2 separate regions of the Homo sapiens genome follow, and region 2 is linked to region 1. Evidence: promoter capture Hi-C in 16 types of primary human blood cells and fetal thymus (Javierre and others, 2016). All regions are on one chromosome and are shown on one strand. Each heading gives the region's core, a stretch centred on a gene start or on the middle of the fragment in contact. The rest is flanking DNA. Distances are from core to core; before and after follow the strand shown. Region 1 holds the start of YAE1-DT (YAE1 divergent transcript). Region 2 overlaps TRG-AS1 (T cell receptor gamma locus antisense RNA 1).

Region 1 (2,739 bases), core at 108-2,607:
ACCCTACTTCTTGGGTCAATTTTCTTAGAAAGTCATTCATATCTCTCAGGTTTTCGAATGTGTTGCTTTTGAGTTTTAGTTGGTAATTAATATTTTAATCTCCTTCTGCATCAGTGGTTATCTCATTTCTCATTCTTGTATAATTTTGTTCTCTTTAAAAATCTGGGTCATGACAGGATTATCTATCTTATTGGTGTTTTCAAATAATACAAAAAAGAATTGGACTTACTTATTCAAGTTTTGAGGTTTTCTATTTTATTGTTATCTTTATTGCTTACTACCATTTTGTTCCTAATAAAGATATATACATATATCTTAATATATTTACATTAATAAAATATACATATTTGTAGTTTATATATTTTTTATTTGTGGGATGCCAAATTCTCTCTGGAGATTTAAAATTGTAACATGAACCAACCACCCACTCCCACACACTTATGGTTCTTACTGTGCTTATTTAAAAATTTTTTTCATAGCATTTATTTATGATCTTCTAACAAACCTTATGCTACTTATATATTGCTTATTGTTTATCCTGTCAATTTTACATGACTATAAAGTCGACAAGGGTTGGGAACTTCCGTCTGTTCATTGATGTATCCCAAAGCCTGGAATGGTACCTGACACAAGGTAGGTGTTCAATAAATTGTTAGATAAATAAATCATAATCACATGACTCATTTTACCCAGGCAAAGGGCAAAACAGGAATACTACAGGTATTCATTCATTCACCAAAATAGAGTTCAGCATTTACTATGTGTCAGAACTGTCCTGGTGTTGACACAAGTCCCCACCCTTACCAAACCAACTGTTTACTTTAGGGCATATGAACAGGAATGGGAGGCAGAAGGATATCGTGAATCAATGAAAAAATATATTGGCTTTACAAATGTACTCTATATTTCTTACTAATCTCAAATTGGCTACAGTACCTCGCTTTTCGATCCTATTTTCCTTTACTCCACAATCCTAACAGTTTAAAATGTCGGCTTGTCAAATCCTTTAAATGCAGAGGAGATTCCAAAAGAGACAAAGTATTTGGGTGGTAATCGCCCATCGACTTTACTACCTTTAATAGTTTACCAAAGCGCGCGAATGTAAAACCCAGACCATGGTAAGACTACGGTGGAAATGGAAGGTGTCTCACTGAGGGTCCCGGTTGCCTTCTGCAAAGGTGAAGGTCGTGCCGGCCACGCGAGGAAATCTGCCTCGCTCACAACTCACAGGCACACATCAACACTGCCAACCGAGGGAGCCCAAAATCACCGCAAGCGAAAGGCTCCGGCGGCGGCCACGGGCCACAGCCCGCCTCCGCGCACACGCAGCCCCTCCCGAGCCTCCACTCGCCGTCTTCGCCCCGCCTTCGGACCGGAAGGAGTTGTTGGCGCTTCCGGTGGCCTGCGACCCCGTAATTGCCTCGGTGATGTCGTGGGTTCAAGCAGCCTCCTTGATCCAGGGCCCTGGAGACAAAGGGGACGTGTTTGACGAAGAAGCAGACGAGTCGCTCCTGGCGCAGCGGGAATGGCAGAGTAACATGCAAAGACGAGTCAAAGTAAACGTGGTGTGGACGGCGCGGGGTGCTGGGTTGTGGGAAGAGGCGCGGAGTTGTGAAGAAGCTGGGTCCAGAGTGGCCCCAGCCTGGCCCGGCGCTGCTCTCTTTATCCCTAGGGACCCGGTCCGACCCGCGTCTTGCTAGGATTTCTCGATGGTTACTTGAAAGCGTGTAAAACAACAAGACGCATTCTTTGAGCGCCTACGGGATGCGTTAGAAACTGAGGACCGACCAAAATTAACTATGTGTAGACTTTGAACAGTTTGCAGTTTGTTGAGGATCACAGGGAAAGGAGCTGGAGAGAAACATACACTATACTTATTATGGCTGTCAAAGGACGTGTACGCAGTTTATATGGGTGGCTTGAATGGGTAGGGAGCCTAAAGTTAAGGAGTAGTGTTAATCAAGACATATTGAAAAGATGAACTAAAGCATGCTGTCAGAGGACAATAAGGGAAAGCTAATGTGGAATACTGGTGTCTAGGTAAGGGAATATTAAAGTTGGTTTCTTTTTTATTTGTTAGATGTAACTTTTTCATCTCTAATTTGTCTCACTATTCATTGAAACTAAGCTTAATTTCTGTGTGCAGCCTACAGTATTTCTGGGTGAGGACCAAATAGTGAGGTCCACATCCACTTAATATATTTGCCAACCATTAAATTGCCGCTAAAGCTGCAGTTGGGAATCTGCCCTGTTTAATATTTCAGTAGAGTGGTATTTGCTTAGCCCAAAAACCATGTTGTCAATTACAAAAATGCTTTATGTGAGACTGGGGCCACACTAATAAGTATTGAGCATCTTTTAAATGCTGTGGCACCGTGAGAGATGCAGAACGAAATCACTACCCACAGAGCTTTTGCAGGTTAGTTGAATTTAGGTATTATGCAAAATTTCTGAAACCAGACTTCTCATCATCCTTTTTTTTTTAAACAATTTCCTCTCTCTGCTTTGCCCTGTCTCCTCACCCACCCACACCATTCCAATCAGTTGGCAAGAGCCCAGATGTGTAATTTTCCATATATCCTTTTTGTGAAGACATTGCTAATGCTGGGTTTTGTTTTTTGTTTTTTGGTTTTTTTAATCTTTTGAAGTGATTAGAAAAGTTTATTTTGTGCTTAGGATATTTTTCTAAGGCATCACAGGTTACACATCCAAACTCTTCAATGGTATAATATTTTATAT
Region 2 (2,739 bases), core at 1-2,500, 1.2 Mb before region 1:
AAACAAAAAAAATGGCACAGGTCTGATTATTAGGAAGCTGAGGTTCTTTTTTATACTTAGTATTCACTGAAGTGTGAATTACCTTTCATGTCCTCTAAACATACCAACAAGGAGGCTGGAGTTAGGACTTATGTTAGAGCCAGCCTGCCTGGGGCACAGCCTGGCCCTGCCATTTATTGACTGTGTGACTTTGAGAAAGCTTCCTCATGTAACTCTATCTTAGCTTCCCTGCCTGTAATAAGTAAAAACAGCAACTACCTCATAGATTTGTAAAGATTACATAAAATAATACATGCAATGCATGGCAAACGACAGTCAACGAATGTTATTATTATATTAACTATTGCCATATTATAAATATAAATAAATATAAATGATATAAACAAACTAATAATAGTAATTATTCATTTATTCTTGACTTGAATGAGATCCTTGTGTACTTTAGACATTTATCCTTTGTGAATTTGGGATGGTACAAATATCTTAGGCAAGTCTATCATCTGTCTACCAACTAACTATCTCAAATATCTTTTCATTAAATATAAATTCTTAATTTTGGAGTCAAACTCTTTTTTTTTTTTTTTTTTTGCCCATATACTTTGGGTGTTTCCGAGTCTCATTTAAGAAAACTTTCCCCTCTCCAATATCACAGAAGTATTTTGCATTTTCTTCTCACACTCAGTTTCAAATTTTATTCCATGTTGATCCTGGGATTAGGGTTTCTGGACTTCCCTGAACTAATCGTTCAATCAGCCTCTTGTTCGTTCACTCAGCACACAAGTATACAAGATCCAGAAGTGAATACAGCATGCAGAGAAGGTTGGAGACAGTGTGCCTCTTGGTAGGGGAAATGAAGGGCTAGGGAGTATCATATTTACTCTAAATGTGGAAAGAATGTAGAAGGATGAGAGGACGGGGGATTTTGAGGATACAGGGCTTGGACTACGCCTGGGGGATGGGATTAGAGGCCAACAGGAGAGGGGAAGGCATCCCAGGAGAGGGGTTTTGCAAAACGGCAAGAAAGGTGTATAGCTGAGGGGGAGAAGGCGGGTGGGGTGCTGAGGAGACGCCTCTGAAGCAGGCAGTGGATGAATACTGGGGAAGAGGTGAAGTTCAGCTCTGAAGACCAAGCAGAGGCTCCTGGATCTGGTATGACATGCAGCAGATATTCATCATTTGTGTATGTGTTTCTGAGAGGGAGAGGCGAGGAGGGAGTGGGGACCTGTTGGGTACTTAAAATGGGTGGGCAGTAGGGTACGAGGAAGACAAGAAGTCAGGTGGCAAGGGAGACAACAAGGATCCAATTTGTCTTCTCTGTCAGTGTGAAGAACAGAACCCCGACTAGATTAAAGTGCAAGGTTGTATGTTTTGCAGGGAAATCATAGCAGGTGCCCCAAATCTGGAAAATGATGCACAAAGGAAGCTCCCAAGTCTTCAGGCCCAAGATTCTGAAGAATGGAGGAGCCCCTCAGTGACGCACCATGGAGGGGTTTGGAAGGAAGTCCCTCAAGCGTGAAGTCTAAATCTTATGAATGCGGTCCCCATGTACAGTAACTGACACTTAGCTGGTGCTTGATATATTTTAATGAACAAATGAACATGTGGACTTGGAAGCAATAATTGGACACTCCAAAGGCAACATTCCTTGGACAACTGGAACACAAATTGAAGGACAGGTCGCTATTGCCCCACCCCACTTCCAGCAACCACAGGAAGGAGGAAAAAAAATTAGGAACAGTAACAGAGAAGGAACAACAAGAGAGGTAAGAAAACAAGGAAAGTTCGTATCTTGGAATCTTGGGGGAGAATTGGAAGTTTGGTGGCATCTCCAAATGCCACAGACAGCACTTTGTGATCACTGGTAGGGTTTTGGAGAGCAGAGCATAATGACACAGAGTTTAATATTTACTGGTGGGAGAGGGTGTAGGGTATCAGCCATGTGGCAAGGTGCGTATGGACAAGGCACTCCTGGGCTGGACTGGTTTTACAGGGCATCAGAGTGCAGCAGGGAGGGAAATAAGCATGCAATTCTGACCCAACCCTCAAGAATCAAACAACCTGAGTGTTTGACCTGAGATCGGGGGGACTGGGAATTAACTGGATTTTAGGAAACAAAGATAAAATTTAGATTTCTTTGGAAAGAGCTTCAGGGTACCTACCTGGCCTTCCTCTCAATTTGCATAGATGTAAGGGTTATGTCTCAAATATCTTTTAAGTGGAAAAAGTCACTATTTGCTGCTGCTTGTTAAGTGATCCTTAAAAGGTATTACCAATGAGTCACAAAATATTTGGATGGAATATTAAGCTTATTCGCGCATGGTTTATTTGGCTTTATGAACAACTTATCAACCCCCTACTGTGTGCCTTGAAGAACGCTGCCCGTGAACATCCAGGCGGTCTCCTCCTGGTGATTCAGGACAGGATCATCATCAAACAGGGATGCACCTGCAGGGCTCAAAGATGAACAAAACCACCTGGATCTCCATTTTCTAAGTCTTCCAAGAGAATATTGGTCATTGTCTTCTCTGTGCTGTTACCAAATGTCCGATTCCATTTACTGAAGTCCTAGGAAAGTCTCACACCAGGAAGACGGTAGCTACAGCACTGTGTAGAAAAGCTGTGCGATCTGCTCATCTCCAAGTTCTGACACGTTTGTAAGGTTTTTAGTTGAGTTCCAAGTAAAAACCAGAAGGCAGCTGTTAGTTGGGCTCCTTTGAAAAGAGGAGTAGAGTCCTATCA

What was found. Contacts are between HindIII fragments. The CHiCAGO score rates a contact against its expected background, and 5 or more counts as called.
Region 2: a contact is called between a fragment that was not itself captured here and the fragment with the promoter of YAE1-DT in region 1, in 1 of 17 cell types (naive CD8 T cells). The highest score is 5.2, in naive CD8 T cells.

What each region holds. Positions count from the first base shown.
Region 1 is chr7:39,564,992-39,567,730 of GRCh38, forward strand. YAE1-DT (YAE1 divergent transcript) reads right to left here and starts at 1,358. Exons shown (of 3, transcript NR_187579.1): 1 at 1,152-1,358. It overlaps YAE1 (YAE1 maturation factor of ABCE1), which reads left to right and starts at 1,413. Exons shown (of 3, transcript NM_020192.5): 1 at 1,413-1,556. The coding sequence starts at 1,428. It also overlaps the pseudogene TMX1P1. RefSeq lists an enhancer at 1,250-1,699. The HindIII fragment of the contact is 5,827 bases long and covers 1-2,126 here.
Region 2 is chr7:38,378,254-38,380,992 of GRCh38, forward strand. TRG-AS1 (T cell receptor gamma locus antisense RNA 1) reads left to right here. Exons shown (of 4, transcript NR_040085.2): 4 at 1-387. Among named protein-coding and RNA genes, the nearest start is that of TRG-AS1, 38 kb to the left of the region's middle. The HindIII fragment of the contact is 2,106 bases long and covers 198-2,303 here.